Regions from separate parts of the Homo sapiens genome. Here all the other regions are linked to region 3. Evidence: promoter capture Hi-C in human tissues and cell types (Jung and others, 2019). All regions are on one chromosome and are shown on one strand. Each heading gives the region's core, a stretch centred on a gene start or on the middle of the fragment in contact. The rest is flanking DNA. Distances are from core to core; before and after follow the strand shown.

Region 1 (2,700 bases), core at 102-2,601, 150 kb before region 3:
CCACGCTCCAGTGTCTCTAGGCCCACTGCTGCCTCTGCCTGGAGAACCTTCCTTTCCCACCCACCCACACTCTGCCTTTGCCGAGCCACTGCTATATATTTTGAAAACCTACATCAGTGCCACCTCCTCTGAGAAGCCTTCTCTGACATCCCCCAAGTCTGGACCAGGCACCCCTCCTGTTGAGGGGGGCGGCGCACAGTATCTAGTACCATGGCACAAGATTTCAACATTGCTTGTTTACTTGTCTGTGAACCGGAGGGCAACCGCACATGGCAGGCACTGGAGTTGTCCATCCAAAACCTAGGACCTTTTCCTGATTTTATTCAGGCAAGAAATTGCTCAGTCTTGAGGATGATCGTTATTTTTTTTAACTTTTTGAAATTTTATTTTTTATTGATACATAATAGTTGTACATACATTGGGGATACATGTGATCATTTAACACATTTGAATAACTTGTAAAGATCAAATCATCATACTCAGGATATATATTGCCTTAAATATTTGTCTTTTCTTCATGCTAGAAACATTTGAATTGCTGTCTTCTAGCTCCTTTGAAATATACAATAGATAATTAGTAGTTAACCTTTACTGTGAGCCAAGTACTGTGCTAAGCACCTTATGTACATTAAACATTTAATCCTTACATCAACCTGTGAAGTATCATTATCACCATTTTACAGATGGGAAAACTGAGGAACAAAAGGTTAAGCTCCTTGCCCAGGGTTATATAAATCAGAAGTGATGGAGCCATGATTTGAACTGTGGCCATCGGGCTCCAGAGCCTGTGCTCTTAGTGGACATGATAGACTCACTGCTTTTCCCATGAACAGCACATCACAATTGGCCCAAGGCAGCCATTTATGGCATCCCATTCTGGTTTGCCTGTGACTGGTCTAGAAACAGGCATGTGATCCAGATATGGTCACTGGGTTATAATAAGAAGGCACCTGGGCACTTCTAGGAAAGGTGTTCTTCCCCTATGGAAAAAAAAAAAAAAGAGCAAAGTGAAGGTCCCTGTTCTGTCTTGCTTCTGTCTTTGAGCATTAGGATGTTGTTGGGGGCTATGATGGCCATCTTGCCATCTGAGGGGAGATATCACTGACCCACCAAGAATGGTTCTTGATGGCACTGCTGAGCTGTGGACCCTACAGCCTCTAAGGACCACAGCCCTGGACTTCTTTCTTATTTTAGATGAGATAATGAATGCCTGCATTGTTTTGTCAGAGGTGTTTAAACTGGAGCAACTCCATCTTGAATAGAGGCTGGGTAAAATAAGGCTGAGGCCTACCGGGCAGCATTCCCAGACAGTTAGGCACTCTAAGTCACAGGATGAGATAGGAGGTCAGCACAAATACAGGTAATAAAGACCTTGCTGATAAAACAGGCTGCAGTAAAGAAGCTGGCTAAAACCCACCAAAACCAAGATGGCGATGAGAGTGACCTCTGGTCATCCTCAATGCTATACTCCTACCAGTGCCATGACAGTTTACAAATGCCAAGGCAACATCAGGAAGTTACCCTATATGGTGTAAAAAGGGGACGCATCAATAATCCACCCCTTGGTAGCATATAATCAAGAAATAACCATAAAAATGGGCAACCAACAGTCCTCAGGGCTGTTCTGCCTATGGAGTAGCCATTCTTTATTCCTTTACTTTCTTATTAAACTTGCTTTCACTTTACTCTGTGGATTTGCCTCGAATTCTTTCTTGCACGAGATCCAAGAACCCTCTCTTGGGGGTCTGGATTGGGACCCCTTTCTGGTAAGAGTTTAGGCCACTACTGGCTGAGTATTGTAACTTGCAGCCAAACCCATACACCCATCCAATGCCTAAACGGTGCCTGGCACACAGTAGGCCCTTCATAAAGGGCTGTTTAATGAAGGAAATGGAAAACCACGTGAGCATATGTGGCAAAACAGGATGAACTCAAAGCACTACATGAATATGAAGAAAGTTTCATTTTCTTGAGCCTCAGTTTCCTCATTGAGGGGGCTGGGCTCAGTGGGTTCACTTAGGCACCCACTTTCTCTATTTTGAGTACAAGAAAAGATGAAGTTTCAGGTAGGCAGGACTGACAATAAATGTTATGGGAGAAGAGACCCTGGGAATCCCTCACAACTGCACACTGCTTATCCTTGGCAAGCTGAGGGAGCCTGTCAAAGGGCATCACTTTCTGCGGGAAGGTTCAAAGAAACACATCTAAATAGAAGAGAGTATGATAAGGGACTCGCCCAGGGGCCACCCTCTACAACAAAGAACTGCAAAGACCTCTGCTCTCTTGGCCTTTGATTTAACTCAATACAATCTGAAAACATCTGAACGACTTTCTTTGTTCACTATAGAGTCCTGAGGGCCGCCCAGAGGCCTGCCTGTTTATCCACCACAGGCAGCTGGCAGTAACTCAGCAGGCGCAAAGCACACACCTTGCTCTGTCAGATCAGCCACTCAGATAAGGCCACGGGGGTCACTCATGAGTCCAGGGGCATTGGCGTGGGCTCTAAGGCACCTGATGGGGCAGGCCAACCATTGGCCAAGTAATAAGGACCTCTGAGTCCTACTCTGAGGCTTCCCTGGCTCCCTTTTACTGTCCCTAGTCATCCTTTGTGGGACCCTTTAGGAAATTATACATTAGTTCAATGTTCACTTCAATTTCTCAACTAAAAGTCTGTGTTCTGCACTCAGAAACATCTTAGTC
Region 2 (2,700 bases), core at 28-2,527, 140 kb before region 3:
ACAAGCAATGGAAAACGAGTGAATTTCATCAAAGGGTAGATCCTGTCCCTTTGGGGAGTCCTTCAGACTATTCTCAGGATGCTTCCAGCTCCAAAATTCCCCATCTGTACTGCAAGTCAGCCTGACTTTCCCAGGTCATCCACTTTGTGTATCTTCTCCCTCCTGCTCCCTCAGCCACCATCATCACCAGTCCTGTGTGCCATAAACTCAGGCTGAATTTCCTGGCTAATAAACTAGTCATTGCCAACAGCACAAATAGTTTCATGTGCCAACTGGCCATTTGCTTCTTAATAAATGGGAGCTTCTTGAGACAAAATTCTTTAATATGGAGGACAGATTTAGCCCAGTGGGGCTTTATCATGTTCCTTAACCCACTAAGCATCTAGGAGAAGTGGGACCTGACCCTTAGAGTAATCCAGTGCTTTGGGGATTGGCTCCCCAACTCAGGGTTAACTGTGTGACCTAAACAGACCTTCAGGGTGACATGGTGGAGAAAAGGGTATAACCTATTTATGAAAAAGAAAAAATGCAGTAACCCAGGAATCGTCAGGCCTGAGCTTTAGTCCCAACTCTGCTCTCAGTTGCTGTATGATCTGCAGTGAGCTCTCATGTCTGCAAAACTCATTCTAGTAATTATCCGTGTGACCAGCAGCAGGTCCCTTCTCCCTGGGCCTTAGCTCTTCTTCCTCTCAGTGGGGGAATGAACAGAGGTCTCCTCTGGTTATGACATTTATTAGTGGTTTTTACAAGATGGTTTGACTCAAATCATATTTTAAAAATTCTTGTCTGTGCTTGAACACTTCAAATGTTTTATTACTAGATCTACAGTACATAACAAAGTAATTGTGTAATTAAGAGATAATGTCAATGCTGTAGAACAATGTTGACAAGATAATAGCCTTCTGAAACCACATAAATGCCAAAGCAAGTGTACAGACTGATAGGTGGAAAAACAGAAAAACAAGTGGCAAATGGCCCACAAGCTCTTTGCAGTCCATGTTGGTTTATTTGCCTCTTTTCCCAGCTTCTGTCATGACATTCAAGTTCTGGTCTCCATCATGCCCCAGTTCCCAGGCATGTGGGTCAAGACTGAGAACGGCAGGTTTCATCTACGGTAGCTGGTCCCCATCGTCCCTTTACTTGCAGACTCACAGAAAATGAGTCCCATCGGCCCCCACGTCTGGAGGGGCTAGAGGTCATGTAGTTCAGACTCTCCTAGTGCCTGCCATTGCCAGATAAAGAAGATGAGACCAGAGTCAAGAAGGATTTGCTCTGGGGAACTTCTGAGCTGATTTATGGAAAAGAGCTGGAGCCCTGGATTCCTTCCCAATTTGCCACTTCTCCTTACTCTAGCCAGAATGCCTTACTTAGATGCATTTTCTCAGTGGAGAGAAGGGAGCTGCAGGAGGTGGAGAAGGGATGGTTCACATGACCTTGAGGCCCAGAGGCATTTCCCTGCAAGCAGAAGGAGGGGATCAGGCATTGTCCTAACCAGGCAGCCTAGAAAGAGGAAAGTCATGGAGTGATACAACTATGAAGGTCATGAGTGGGGAGGAGGGCTTGTTAGCTACATGTTACAGTATTTGGTTTTTTGTTTTGTTTTGTTTTGTTTTGTTTTTTTGAGACGGAGTCTCACTTTGTTGCCAGGCTGGAGTGTAGTGGCCCAATCTCAGCTCACTACAACCTCCACCTCCCTGGTTCAAGAGATTCTCCTGCCTCAGCCCCCTAAGTAGCTGGGACTATGGGCATGTGCCACCATGCCCAACCAATTTTTGTATTTTTAGTAGAGACAGGGTTTTACCATGTTGGCCAGGATGGTCTTGATCTCTTGACCTCATGATCCACCCGCCTTGTCCTCCCAAAATGCTGGGATTACAGGCATGAGCCACCCCACCAGGCCTAGATGTTACAGTATTAAGAAGGGCTGTGCACCCTTGAATTTGAGGAAAGGTAAGAATGGAGCAAAGAGGGACCGTGCTCCTGGTTCATGGGCATGGAAAGAGGCTAGATCACCCTCTTTTGGAAAAAGAGACCTTATGTGCTGCAAAGAGTACTGGGTTTGGAGCCAGAAGAACTGAGTAGAAGCTAGTAATTTGTTCAGTGACTTTGAATGAATAACGGACTTCCCCTTTCTGGGCTATAGCTTCCTTAGCTCTGAAATGAGGGCAATGAACCCAATCAATAGTGCCCACATACCCTGAACTGAGGCTAATTTCCATTTCCAACTGCTCCCTGGGTGGTTAGCATGATTAGGGGGCTAGCTACTCCTTGAAGCTTCTCCCAACGCTAGCATCCACAGATTCTAGGAAAAAATCAATTGATTCACAATGGTTTTGATAAATTCCTGGATACCAGAGCTATAACAGGGTCCTAAGTATAGTTGTGGGGTTAAGTTGCACCAGACCTATGAGAATAATGTCAGGTGGACATGCAATCCCTTGATCTCCCTGTTGGACACAGAAGCCAGGATAAATGGCCCACAGGTCCAAAGAGGTTTCAGCCCTGTCCTCCCACTCCTCCATGCCTTTGAGCATGCTATTCCCTCCTCCCCACCTTGGCCCCCAACCCAACCCTCCTCTCCTCCCCTTCCTATTCAACTTGGGATACCAACTGGGGAATCTCTGCTGACTGCTCTGAGCTGATTAATTACTTTCTTTGTCACACTGAATTATTTATATTGAGACCTGCCAGGATTGTTTG
Region 3 (2,700 bases), core at 36-2,535:
ATAAGGCCCCAGTCCCTTTTACCCTTGTTATCTCTCTGGCTTAATCTCTTAGAACTCTTCAGTCACCCAGATGTATGTCCTCGCTAGTTCCTCAAACACCCCAGGAATGCTCCCTTCTCAGAGCCTTTGCTCACGTTGTTCCCTTCCTTGGAACGCTTTCCTCTTAGACAACCAAATGATTAGTTCCCTTGCCTTCTTCACGTCTTCTTCAATTGTCTCCTTTTCAAAGTCCTTCACCCTGGCCATCCTATAAGTACGTAACCCCACCTCTTAGCACTTCCTGTTTCCATTTCCTGTCTTTTCTCCTTGGCACTTGTCATCACAAAATAGACCATGTATTTTACTTACCTTATTTGTTGTTCAGTTCCTCAAGCTCCACAAATCATCACAGCAGGGATTTTCATTTGCTTTGTTCTTTTGCCATATTCCCAGTACCTGAAACAGCACCTGGCATAGAGTAGATACTCAATAAATATTTGTTAAGAAGAATAAAAGACTGACTGTGAGGGCACATAGCATGGAGGTTGAATATTTGGCCTGAAGTACAAAAGCCTGCATTTTAATCCCGGCTCTGCACACTTCTGTGACTCAGTTTACCTGTAACTTGGGATAATACACATCGCCTCCCATGGCTGTGGCAAGCATGCATCTGATTTCATTTAAACCCCTAAACCCACTGCCTGGCCTGTTTCAAAATCTCTGAGCTAAGTAAATGGCAGCTATTGTTACTCAGGGAGGCTCCTGATCGATTTGACATTACATTATGGCTTTGTAACAGGCAAATCAGCACCCACCGCTTTTGAGTCATAACTCACACACTTACTCCCCAAATTGTCAGTTTTGATCCCACCTCTGCCAGGACCCCTCCTTTCCTGAACCCACGTTCCCCCAAAGCAAATGGCCTGGGTCTTTTTGCAGTCAGCCCCTTTCAACACACATCTCCTCCTGTTTAAATCTCAGAAGGCCACCCTCCTAAATCTCAGGATGCCTGCCCTGGGGCCCCTTCCACACTCTCCCCCAGTGGAGCTAGGGAATTTGGGTGGGAAACAAAGGGGAGAACATAAGGTGAGCTGAGAGGGAGAGGGAGAAGAGAGCAGGCCAAGCCATACCCACCTGCCAGGTTCCTGTCTTTGCCTACTGATAAATAGGGGATACTAATGGCCAGATTTTCCATTCCCCCACCCCAGCACCCGCTGTCACTCAATTAAAAAAAGATAGAGGGAGAGAGCCTGGGGGAGGGGCAGGAGGCCTTGGCTATAAAGCCTGTGGCTAAGTGGGGAAAGCACGAAGCCTGGCCTGCTGGGTCCTTTTCCCGTCATCCCCAGCCAGATTTAGCTGCTGACAGCTGCTTGGGACTCTGCCGCCAGGGCCTGGCCCAGACCTGCCTGCCTCTCTCCTCTCCCTCAGTGACTCCTGAGCCACAGCCCCTCCATGGCCCAGAAGGAAGAGGCTGCTGTGGCCACTGAGGCTGCCTCCCAGAATGGGGAGGATCTGGAGAACCTGGACGACCCTGAGAAGCTGAAAGAGCTGATTGAGCTGCCGCCCTTTGAGATTGTCACAGGGTAAGCCTCAGATGTGGGTCAGGGTTCTGCTCCCTAGAAGAGTGCAGCCTTGGGTTAGGCTGTGGAAATTCAGGATGGTTATATTAGGCGTCAGGGACAGCTACAACCCTGCAGCAGTGAGAGTGCACCAGTGGGCCCGGCAGGGGTGGTAGGGGACCCAGCAGCAAATTCTCTTGGCTTCTCAGGGTGACACCTTGGGCTCTCTAATCAGGGAGAGGTAGGAGGAGCTCCTTGGAGGCAAAAGCCCAGAGAATAAAACCACCCTTCAGGCCTCCTGGTATTGGGATGGCCACCTGCCTCTCTGGGTAGAAGCTTAGTCCCAGGGAGTTTGGCGAGGACAGAGGATGAGACTGGCACATCTATATGTGGCTCCGTTCAAAGCAACCCTTCCCCTCAACTTCTCTGTTCCTGAGTGGGTCTCTCCGCTAGCCATAGGCCTCTAGCCCTTTCTTTAGAGCTTCTTCCTGGAGTAGATGCTCCCAAGACAGGAAAGATAGATCCATCCTTTCCCAAGACTCAGAAGCAGCTTTTTTCTTATTAAATCTTTTGAGTCTCCTCAGGGGCTGTCCCACAGAGAAACAGAGAAATTACATGCAGATAACGCAGCCCAGGAGCTTATGGACACAGGAGCTGTTCCAACATGCTCAGGCATTGCCTGGAGGAACTGGGACCCAAAGAAAAGGGTCTACAGACTGCAAGGAGGGGGCTGTGTGCAGGGTACCTCTGTCTTATCCAGATTATGCCATCTCCAGGAATAAAACTAAGTAGTCTTCTTCCTCTTCCCTTTCTATTCCTGTAGTGGAAGACCCTTCTAAATCCTGAGCAAAGAATAAAAAGAGAATCTATGAGGCCATATTTCCTCCTTGAACCAAACGTTCCCTTCATGGGGTCTCCAGGAATGACCACAGGCAGAGTGGGTGCGAGACTAAGAGAAGTTTCAGGAAGAAAGGAGGCATGATGCTTTCAAGGGGGAAAGGAAGCCCTGAGTGGCAATTTGGACTTGATATTTCAAGCTTGACAAGTGATTTTCCAGTCAGCCACAGTTTTAGCACTTATAACATGAAGATCTATAGTAGTAAGGTCCCTTCCAGCTCAGATGTTTTCTGATTTTCAAGAGAACCTAAGGGAAAATGCATCC

The links. The method cuts DNA at HindIII sites, captures the fragments that hold promoters and counts their contacts. A contact is called where the count stands out against the background at its distance.
Region 1: a contact is called between a fragment that was not itself captured here and the fragment with the promoter of APOBEC2 in region 3, in 1 of the 25 tissues and cell types used here (mesenchymal stem cells).
Region 2: a fragment that was not itself captured here is called in contact with the fragment with the promoter of APOBEC2 in region 3 in 2 of the 25 tissues and cell types used here (IMR-90 fibroblasts and mesenchymal stem cells).

Annotation. Positions count from the first base shown.
Region 1 is chr6:40,897,579-40,900,278 of GRCh38, forward strand. All of the region lies in intron 2 of LOC101929555 (a long non-coding RNA gene), which reads right to left. Among named protein-coding and RNA genes, the nearest start is that of UNC5CL, 140 kb to the right of the region's middle. RefSeq lists enhancers at 1,923-2,434, 2,435-2,700. The HindIII fragment of the contact is 3,939 bases long and covers 1-2,700 here.
Region 2 is chr6:40,915,671-40,918,370 of GRCh38, forward strand. All of the region lies in intron 1 of LOC101929555 (a long non-coding RNA gene), which reads right to left. Among named protein-coding and RNA genes, the nearest start is that of UNC5CL, 120 kb to the right of the region's middle. RefSeq lists an enhancer at 2,323-2,700. The HindIII fragment of the contact is 7,549 bases long and covers 1-2,700 here.
Region 3 is chr6:41,051,917-41,054,616 of GRCh38, forward strand. It overlaps APOBEC2 (apolipoprotein B mRNA editing enzyme catalytic subunit 2), which reads left to right and starts at 1,286. Exons shown (of 3, transcript NM_006789.4): 1 at 1,286-1,562. The coding sequence starts at 1,432. The HindIII fragment of the contact is 7,265 bases long and covers 1-2,224 here.